Linked DNA regions of Homo sapiens: regions 1 and 2 are each linked to region 3. Evidence: promoter capture Hi-C in 16 types of primary human blood cells and fetal thymus (Javierre and others, 2016). All regions are on one chromosome and are shown on one strand. Each heading gives the region's core, a stretch centred on a gene start or on the middle of the fragment in contact. The rest is flanking DNA. Distances are from core to core; before and after follow the strand shown.

Region 1 (3,229 bases), core at 228-2,727, 2.4 Mb after region 3:
CCTACATAAAATTTTAAAGCCCTGAGACAGTCAATGACAAATGAAGTTTTAGTAGCTAAGAAAATACAGCATCGTTCCACATTATGTGTCTCTTTAACGCCTACGCCTACCTTTCGTTCATTTAGTGAGCTGAAGAAAAAAATGTTCAAACCCTTATATGCATTTCCTTAAGTTCCTAGAATACCGGAATACTGACACATATGATTGCACTATTTCCTATCCGTCGAAGATGATTCTGAATTTCACTAAAAACCGCAAAGGAAACCAATAGTCACAAAATAATTCTGATAACCCCACCAAAGAGGAAATAAAGAGAGGAAGTTACTCTAAAAGTCTGATAGGGCAAAAGTGACTGCAGCAGAAGGGCCTCAAGGTTCAGTCCATGAGGACCTTGATTAACCTTCATCTTTACGCCCCCACCCCATCCTTCCGGGTCCTCCCCCTTCTTCAACGACTGGCTTTACAAGGCTCATAGGAAAGGTGCGTGTATTCAGACGGACACGATTCCAGCTGTGGCTCCTCCACTTTCAGGGTCGCTGTTTCCACAGTTGACAAGCAGGAGAACCATACTTGTTGCACTTCCCTCACTGGGCTGCCGCCAGCATCATATAGAAAAACGCTGTCCCAACATAAGCCAAAGCCACCATGACTGGGATAGTCGCCAAACAGAACTCAGCTTCGGTTCCCCTCCCGGCAAGGCTGGTTCGACCTACAGTCAACAGGAAGCTCCTGGGGGCAGGGACAGGATCCCTGCCTCGGAAGGAGGCAAGACGTGAACGTTTTTTGGACGGCGATCAGGATGGTGATGAGGGTGTGAGTAACGCCCCCGGCTCACGCGGTTGGGCTTGAGATTTTACTACCAACGACAAAGGGTGCGGAAGCGTAGCGCTGAGAAGCAAACAGCCAACCAAAAAAACTCAACCCCGTCCTCCCCCACAAAAGCAAGCCCCAAAGCCCTGGCCACTACTGAGAGCTGGGCCAAGGAACAGAGAAAGGCAGAGGGGCAGAATCGGAGCGCTCCATTCAATCTCCGCGGCAGCCGAGCGTCGGTGGGTTCGCGGGTGGGAAGGGACGCCGCGGGCCTGCTCTCCGGGCAGGGAAGCACCTCCTCCTCACGCCCCCTCGGCCTGCACCGCCCCCGGGAATCCGCCCCGGACCCCGCCGCCATGTTGGGTCGGGAGAAGTGACACGGACCGGTCGCCTATCCTGACCACAGCAAAGCGGCCCGGAGCCCGCGGAGGGGACCTGACGGGGGCGTAGGCGCCGGAAGGCTGGGGGCCCCGGAGCCGGGCCGGCGTGGCCCGAGTTCCGGTGAGCGGACGGCGGCGCGCGCAGGTACCCGCAGCCCCCGCCCCCGCTAGAAGTCAGGGGGCGGGGCCGGGGGGGGGGGGCGGAGGAGGTGGAGAGTGAGGCCGAGGCGTGGGGAGCCCGGGAACTCCCTCCTCCTGAAGTAACGCGTCCCGGGCCGGCTCTGCCGTCGTTGCTGCCGCCGGGCGCCCCGGGACGAGGAGGTGGAGGAGGGAGAGGGCCCGCGGGCCTCGCCTCCGCCCTCCGCCACCTCGAGCTGCGGTAGCAGCGACTCATGAGAGCGCGGCCGGAGGACAGGTAAGGACCCGGTGGGGCCCCGCGGGCGGAGGGTTCCACCTCTGCCCGGACAGGGCTAGGCCCCAGCGCCCGGAGCCGCCGCCGCCGCCGCCGCCGCGGTTCCCCGCCCCCGCGGGCCCGAGTCGGGAAGTTGGGAAGAAACTTCTCCCCTCCCCCGGATCGCCCGGCGGGCTTGTCTCGTTCCCCGCGCTACCTGCTCGCCCCTGACTCGGTCTCTGCCCTGTCCAGACCTGCCGGGTCCCGCCCAAGTCCGACCTGAGGTTCCAGGGGCGTGGGGACACTCCCCACCCCTTGTCTTTGGGGTCGTGTGGACCGCCCGGCGACGGGGAGGAGAGGTTTATTTTTGCCCCTACGGCCGAAGTAGGGGCGAGGGAAGCGGCCCCTTTGGGTCCTAAAGGCTGGGGGTCTGTGTATCGGCCGACGCCGGTAGCAGCTGTGCGGGGAGAGGAGCGGGTGTGTGGGGCGAGTGGATGAGCCTTTCTGGCTTTACTTGGTTTGATTGAAAACCGCAACATGTTTAAAGTTTTCCTTTGTTTTGGGTTGGGGGTTGGGAAATTTACCATTCAGCGTCCACTTTTACGGAATCATGCCACTCCGCCTCCCGTTGCGTTCGGTTCCCTGTCCACATGTGTTAAAGAAAATTGTCTTAAAGTGTGTTTTTCTTCTTGATAATTGCTTCCAGCTTTCACTTTATTGGGCATGGGGCAGAGCTGTTTTAAGAAGCTCTTTGAAAATCAAGTCTGGTGTAGGGACTTTAGTTTTTGTTTTGTAATGAGTAGGACTTAACAGTTCGGATTTGGTTGAATCATTTTCTGCATAATTAATTGATACAGGCGTGGAATAACATACTGTATAATTATAAATTACTAAAGGAAATAATGAAAGTCTTTGGTGGAAGCACAATTTTATGTCCATTTATTATGTATATACGTTCCACGGGTGTGTGTTTTCACAGTCGATTTCACATGATATGATTATAGTATCTTCATGTATTATAACTGTAAGATTACAGTGCCAAAGATACCTTGATAATTTTAAATATTTAAACCATCCTGTTACACTTCTAAAGTTAAATTACGCACTAAGGAAAGTATTACTAAATGTATACACGTGACTGTGCATTTAAGGAAAAGTGCATGGTAAATCTAATATCTTAACTATCACAGTGCTTGGCACACGGTGGACAGGAAGCATTTTGAATGGTCAGGTAATAAAGGAGTATCTTGTATTAGCCAAGGATCTTGTATGCATCACTTACGATGTTCATATATTGTACAGTAAGAAAGTTTTACTTTAGCAAATAATATATATGGTTTTTTGGTTTTTGTTTGTTTGCTTATAAGTGTGAGACCCCTGCCACAATTGACATGTAAGGAAAGGAAGTTAAATTGTATTTTTATTTTTGGACATTAGCTAAAAGTCGGTGGAGATTTTAAATGCTGGTTGACAATTCAGAGGGTCCTACATTTGAAAAAGACAATTGCCTTTGATCTGAAAACAAAACAGTTTATATCCATGTTTCCAGGATAAAAGATAAAAGGGCTCTTAAAATATATACTCTGTTGTAACCACTGTAATGTTATAATGGCTTTAATTTCGTAGTTAGGTTTTGCTGACTTCATAA
Region 2 (3,157 bases), core at 1-2,500, 2.0 Mb before region 3:
CACAAGGCCCTACAGGTGCTGGACACTGTTGTTCTCACAAACACATCTCATGTCCACTTTTGCAGAGACTGAGGTACTTCAAGCTCCTTCCACCCTTGCATTCACTTTGTTCCTGTCTCTGTCTTGAAATGCTATTTCTTCCCCCTCTTTGCGAATCTCTCCCTCATCTTTCAGGTCTTAAATGTATGCCTTTGAAGAAGCTTTCACTGATTTCCCAGGCAAAATTAATTCCTCCTGTTCCTCTTTTTCATCACATTCTGTGTTTTTTAACTTTCTATAAAAACACTTATTGCAATGTGCAATTGTGTAACGATGTGATTATTTGTTGAATGTGCACATCAGTATCTCCATGATGACACGGATTGGATCGGGTTTTTGTTCATTTGCTGTATCAAGTGTTCTCAGAGTCACAGGGGGAAGGTGGTTATGGCATTGGGTGTGACACTTTTCCTTGCACAGATGTATTAGATTTTGTTCAGTAACAAAGCATAAAACCCAACCTCCCAGTGGCTTATAAAACAAACATTTACTTCTCAGTCATAGGTCTGTGGGTGAGTTGTCTTCTCTCTAGGCTTGGCTGTGCTCAGGTTTTGGGTTGGCTTCATTCTCAGGTCTGTTTGTCATTCAAGGGCCCAAGCTGAAGAGGGGGTTGTGGCCTAACCATGGTCGTGTTGTGCTGGACGTCACAGCAGAGGAGGAGGCGCAGAACAAAGGCTGCTCTCAAAACCTCTACTCAGACCCGGCCCACTCTCATCTGCTGGTATCCTGCTGTTTCAAAACCAGCCAGAGGGCCCAAGGTCAACATGAGGGAGAAATCAACCTCCCCCGCCTGTGAGACATAATGTTTCCAAACGGTCCCTTACTGGGCTGCTCTGTAACCACATCAGACCCTGGCACCCGGGACTGCACACTGCGGGCCCCATGGCCTGGGCCTCACAATTCTTAGAAACAGGTTCCACTCAGGAGGCCATGGGTGTCCCAAGTGAGGAACAACGTGCTCCAAATGTCACCCATCAGAGTTGTCGGAAAAGGAGGAAAACTTTGTCAAGGACCTTGGGTCAGTGCATTTCAGGAAAGCCCTGCCCCCGCGTTGACGCCACAGTGTACTTTTACAAAGCCCCTTAGTATCAAATTCAAGGTTGTCACTTACTGTCCGCTGATGTTTATTGAAAGCCTCTTGGGTGCTGGGAAGTGCACTTTTGGGTGGCGACACAGGCGAGAAGCCAGGCTTGGGTCAGGCCTTTCCTTTGTGGTTTCCCATCCCTCCACCTTCCCACAGAGTTGTCCCTTTAATTTAGACTCATCCCCACAACCCCTGTGAACCAGCAAGGGACAGCCAGGCAGAGCCCAGGTGACATGAACATAAAACAAATGAGACAAGAGGATTCATTGATACAAAACCAGGATGTCAGGAACCGTCACTTGAGAAATGCATTCTAGTGCTTTAGAACTCTTGTGAATTATGTTATCGGGTTAGTGGAAACGTGGGAAGTCTTTTCCTAGCCATATGCGAAAAGATTGTCTTTACACAGTAGGCAGACCAAAAATACACGCAGAATGAGTGGGAAACCCCATATGTGGTATGGGAGAAGGGGGAGCGCCAGCAGCAGATGCGCCATGACTTGAGTACTGGCCGTGTCCACACATTGTGCTAACTGCAGTGGCTGCTTTACTGCTTGGTGACGCAACCCTATGACAGAGTACTATTATTATCCCCCTATAAACACACAGCATCCACAGGATTGAAATGCAACTTCAAGAGCTACGCAAACAAGAATAAAGCGAGTACACGGTATCATGTCTGATGAGTGTGAACTTTCGTGGCAGAAGACTTGGTTCTGGTTCTGTCCAGGCCACTGGAACCCACTATCTGTGGGTGCAGGTGATTTTCCATCATGGAGCTAATACCTTAGCTGGGCATTATTTCACTTAATCCTTACAAGTGCCTTATTAGGTGCTTTCCATAGCTCTCCTTCAGCTGAGGTTTAGAGAAGTTAAACAATTTACCCAATATGTGAACTGGATATGTCTGACTCTACAACCGGTCTCTTCCATCCTATTTCCTCCATATAAGCCGTAACTTGGGTGCTTTTGTGAACATCAAAAAAGATGCGTATAAAGTCGCCTTGGGGAACGTTAAACCAAAGTCAATTAACATTACAAAATCAACTGAGGCCATATAGAACTTCCTTTAGAAAATTAACACATCCAATCATCATATTATTTCCCAAATGTTTACTTAGGTGCCTGTTGCAAGCACTATCTTATGTCATCTTCAATAAGCCCAAGAGGAAGCTTCTGCTCTAATCTTTAGATATTAAATTACGCGTTTCGGGGAAACTTCGCGTGTGAGGTAAAGCAACATGAGCGACTCTAAGGCGGCGCGGCATTGCTGTCCGGCCTCCTGCATCTCGGTGAGCAGAAAACGCGGGAGCGGGAGGGACTTCCCAGCTCCCGACGCCAGACACAGGCACAGCCGCCGCGTCAGAGGGAAGGCGACGTGGTTCAACAGCAACGGAGCCATTACTGGCGCTGAGCAGGGATGTTAAGGACAGAGCCAAGTTATCAGAGCTCTCCGAATCGAGTCCAGGGTCTGGACTGCCACAGACGGGTCGCCGCCTCCAGCCCCTGGACTTTTCCTTGGAGTGTCCGGGCGCGGACCTACTAGCTCCGAAGCCCTATGGGTGATCCCTTTCTGCTGGGCAACTGGGGTTGCGCTTTACACTACAAATCGAAGACGTCGCTTTTTCCATTTGTTCTGCAAGTGTTTATTGTGCACCGTCCACTCCCCCACAAACTCAATGTGCCGGCGGCAAGAGGCAAGACCGCAGACCCGTGGGCGCGCCTCCCGGTGTCGGCCGGTGTGCGCGGAGGGCGAAAGTGGCCGGGGCGCCCGCTCCGAGACGCGGCAGAGCCCCGCAGCCTCAGCGCCCGGCCTGCGCGCGCCCGGGGGAGGCTCTGGCCCACGCACATGCACACGCACGGGAGCGCTGGCTCCCGCGTCCCCGGCGCTGCGCCGGCGCCGGGCGCGGGCGGAAGCCCACGAACCAGGGCGGGAGGGAGCTTGAGGCGGGGCGGGTGTCCGCGAGCAGCGCTCGTGCTTAAGTTCCCTGGCTCCCGAAGCCCCGCCCTTGCCCCGCCCACTCCTTCTCCCGCG
Region 3 (3,300 bases), core at 554-3,053:
TAAAGAGAATAAACAACTTGCCACACAGCTAGAAAATGGCAGAGCTCAGTCAGGATCTGTACTCAGGAAATCTAGCTCCAGAGCTTGAACCACTAGCCAGTAACATCCTGCATACAGGCAGCTGAAATTCTCTACCATGAAAATGTGGATACCTGGGCATAACAAGCAATGACACCCCAAAGCTAATGTGTAGAATGAGGAAGGAAGATCACAAAGATGCTGGCAAAAAGGGTATGATAAACTCATCCCCAGATATACCTGGAGCCTTTGAATCTTGGGAGAAAGGGAAAACTAGCCCCATGTCGGGGCTCTAAATCCTGTTCTTTCCTAACCCTAGCAACTCTTGTCTGGACATCTGTCCTTCAGAAATTGCAGTTCATCTTGTTCAAGCTTAGTTTCATCAAAGCATAAACGAACATCGAGTCAGCCATCATAAAAGCTGTTTCACTCAAAAGAGCCTAAAGCACTCAAAAGTGCTCTTAGTTATAAAGTCCAGGAGGGTCCACCACCTTCGACAAATTACCTCACCTCTCTGGGTTTCACTTTCCTCAGTTATAAAACGCAAAGCCTTCACAAGGTAATCTATCAGGTCCTACTGAATTCTAAATGCTTTGATTCTTCTCTTACCAAAAGACCATTCCAAATCTACCTTAAACTAAAGCGGCCAAACGAATCCTCTAAACATCCCTTTCTTATTACTCCGTTAGTGAAGACTCCAAAATTACTCTCTATGGCTTCTTAGATAATCTTTTCTTTCTCCTAAGTTTTCAAGACATCCATAAGAAGGTCCTACTTACCTATCTACCCTTATTTCCGACTATTAGTCATTACAGTTCTGTTCCATACCCGCCGGTGTCCCCACGGCCTGCTTTTCACAGGACACAATTCCCAGCTTTTGAGTTTTGCTCGTTACCACCTCCCACACATCTAGCCGGAAACGCTAAGTTCTCCCTCTTAAGGTTGAATCCAAGGCCTTCAGTGAGGTCACGACTCTTTTCCAAGTAACCTTTCCCTATTTCTGTTAATGGTCCTTTCTTCAATCAACACGAATAAACTAAACCTTTACAAGATGCAAGACACACTGAGCGAATTACAACTCTATGTAAATCATCACATTTGAGCCCGTATCAACCACACACTCGGTTACCGGCATGCTAATGGCTTCCTTGGAGGCTTCACCTTAGGCAAGACCGTGCAACAGGAGGCTCCTCCACCCTCCAAAGCATCTAGGATAGTGTTGGGCACAGGGCAGGTGCTCCACACGAACACGCCCGGGTCGGCCCCAATCCACCGCCAGGACCCGCCGCGGCGCCGGGAGGGCAGGCGTTGGCCGCCGGGCAGCCGGGCCGTCCAAGGCCCAGGTGTCTGAGGTCACCCAGGTGGCGCAGGGCCGGCCCACGCACGGCCGGGACCCGGCCACTTCTCCAGCAGGGCGTCTCCCCATACCGGCTCCATCGCCTGCAGCCTCCCGGCCCCTGGACGTCCGGGCCAGGGCCTCGCCACCAACCCTCCTCCCGCCGCCAACCCTCCTCCCTCCACCTCCGGCCCCGCGCCCCCTTCTCAGCCAGTCTGACAGGTCCTGCCGCCGCCTGGCCGCCCTGGGGCGGGGTCCGGCCGCAGGCGCGCGACGGGAGGGGGCGCGGGGGTACGGAGACGGCGGCCCGAGGGGTCTCGCGAGCAGAGTCGAGCGCGACTCACCCGACGCCAAACACCAGAACCGGGGCCGCCCTGCGCGAGACCACAAACGACAGCGAAGAGCGTTAGGCTGTGGCCGGACAGTGGCGGCGCCGACACTTCCTGCCTGAAGGGGCGGAGCGGAAGGCGCACCGGAAGGCGCACCGGAAGGCGCACCGGAAGGCGCGGCGGGACCAAGTGGAACGGGGGTGCGCTGAGTGTTCGCGCCCGGGCCGGCGGGGTCTGCGTGTCCGCCGAGCGGCGGGGCTGCTGAGGCCGGACGCACACGGCCGGGGTCTTAATTGCCCCTCCGGCCTGCTCCGATCCGCTGCGATATCGCGGCCTGCGCTGCGGCGGTCGTCCGCAGCCCGGCCCTCGTCCCCCGCTCCTTTGGTAGCTCCGCCACCCTTCCGCATTCCTGGGCCCGCTGGGCGCGGCTGGGCAGGCCGCTGGAATTTGACCCGAGTGGGCCGCGATCGGCCGAGGATTTGGGGTCCCCTTTGACCCAGGCGGGGCGCGATCCGCCTAGGATTTGGGGTCCCCTGGCGCCGAACCCTGAGTTGCCAGATGTAGCAAGTAAAAGTACAGTTCTTCTAAATTTGAATTTCAGACAAGACAGGTTTTAGGGTTCGTCTCATGTAATGTTGAGAAGGTGAGGGCGGCGCCTGGGCGGATTCTTCTCCGTTCCAGAATCCCTTTCTCTTTTCAAACCGCATTACAGCCCGAGTTAAATTCTTTAACCTACTCCTCTCTGCTTACCCTCATAAGGTTTACGGCCGTATCAGGCTACGGCCGCAGCCTACGGCTGTTTGATTCCCCTTTTGGCCACAAGAAAGTTTTATTCGAACTACTTGCTTTCCTTTATCAAGAAAATGGCAACGCACACACATACATGCACACACAAATAAAAACACAAAGCTACGTTTTTCAGGTTTTGTTCTAGATCGTGTTTGTGGCTGTGTTCTTCAGGATATTTTCCCTCACCTTGAGGTAATCTAGCATTACTTCATCTAGCATTACTAAAATAGCATTACTTCAGGATGGTGGAGGATCGGCAATCTAATAGCAAATCTTTATTGAACTCTTCTTACTGCCTTAACATGTGCCGGATGCTGAGAGATGAATTCAAAGCCTCTTAGGGAGTTTATATTCTAGAAATCTTTGATCAGAAATTCCTAGAAGAGAGGGACCTTGTGTTCAGCACTCTGTAGCAGTTCTTAAACAGTAGCACGCATAATAACAGGGCTTTTAAAAACATTTTTGAGCCTCAAAACCGGGTATCAGGATTCAGTGAGTAAGGGGTGGAGGATAATTCGAATTTCTGGTAAGCACACATGATGCTGATGGGGTGGTCGCCATCCCAGCAGCACAGCTCTAAACGCGGTTCATAACTGTGTGTATTTTCTCAATAGTGTTAGAAAAGCAATTGCTGAAAAGTCACACCTGGTTCTACAATATTTACTCTTAGGTTTTGGTTCGATAGTCTAAATTAAAAAAAAAAAAGTTTCTAGAATTGTGCTGTCCAATACAATCGTCACTAACCACATGCAGCTAAACTTAAATTTAGTTCCTCAGTTGTATTTGATACGTTTTATTTTTAGAGATGGGGTCACCCTATGTTGCCTA

What was found. The method cuts DNA at HindIII sites, captures the fragments that hold promoters and counts their contacts. A CHiCAGO score of 5 or more calls a contact.
Region 1: the fragment with the promoter of YES1 here is called in contact with the fragment with the promoter of MYL12B in region 3 in 2 of 17 cell types (activated CD4 T cells and naive CD4 T cells); the score reaches 7.4 in activated CD4 T cells.
Region 2: a fragment that was not itself captured here is called in contact with the fragment with the promoter of MYL12B in region 3 in 2 of 17 cell types (naive CD8 T cells and non-activated CD4 T cells); the score reaches 6.4 in naive CD8 T cells.

The regions. Positions count from the first base shown.
Region 1 is chr18:810,490-813,718 of GRCh38, reverse strand. It overlaps YES1 (YES proto-oncogene 1, Src family tyrosine kinase), which reads left to right and starts at 1,477. Exons shown (of 12, transcript NM_005433.4): 1 at 1,477-1,605. RefSeq lists enhancers at 275-816, 817-1,359 and silencers at 1,091-1,600, 1,651-1,710, 1,781-1,870. The HindIII fragment of the contact is 10,737 bases long and covers 1-3,229 here.
Region 2 is chr18:5,296,269-5,299,425 of GRCh38, reverse strand. It overlaps a transcript of ZBTB14 not described here. Among named protein-coding and RNA genes, the nearest start is that of ZBTB14, 2.1 kb to the right of the region's middle. RefSeq lists enhancers at 2,492-2,651, 2,369-3,054 and a silencer at 2,862-3,157. The HindIII fragment of the contact is 2,095 bases long and covers 203-2,297 here.
Region 3 is chr18:3,260,636-3,263,935 of GRCh38, reverse strand. It overlaps MYL12B (myosin light chain 12B), which reads right to left and starts at 1,803. Exons shown (of 4, transcript NM_033546.4): 1 at 1,699-1,803. MYL12-AS1 (MYL12A and MYL12B antisense RNA 1) reads left to right here and starts at 1,577. Exons shown (of 4, transcript NR_130145.1): 1 at 1,577-1,883; 2 at 2,606-2,664. RefSeq lists a silencer at 1,258-2,147 and an enhancer at 2,358-2,407. The HindIII fragment of the contact is 3,443 bases long and covers 393-3,300 here.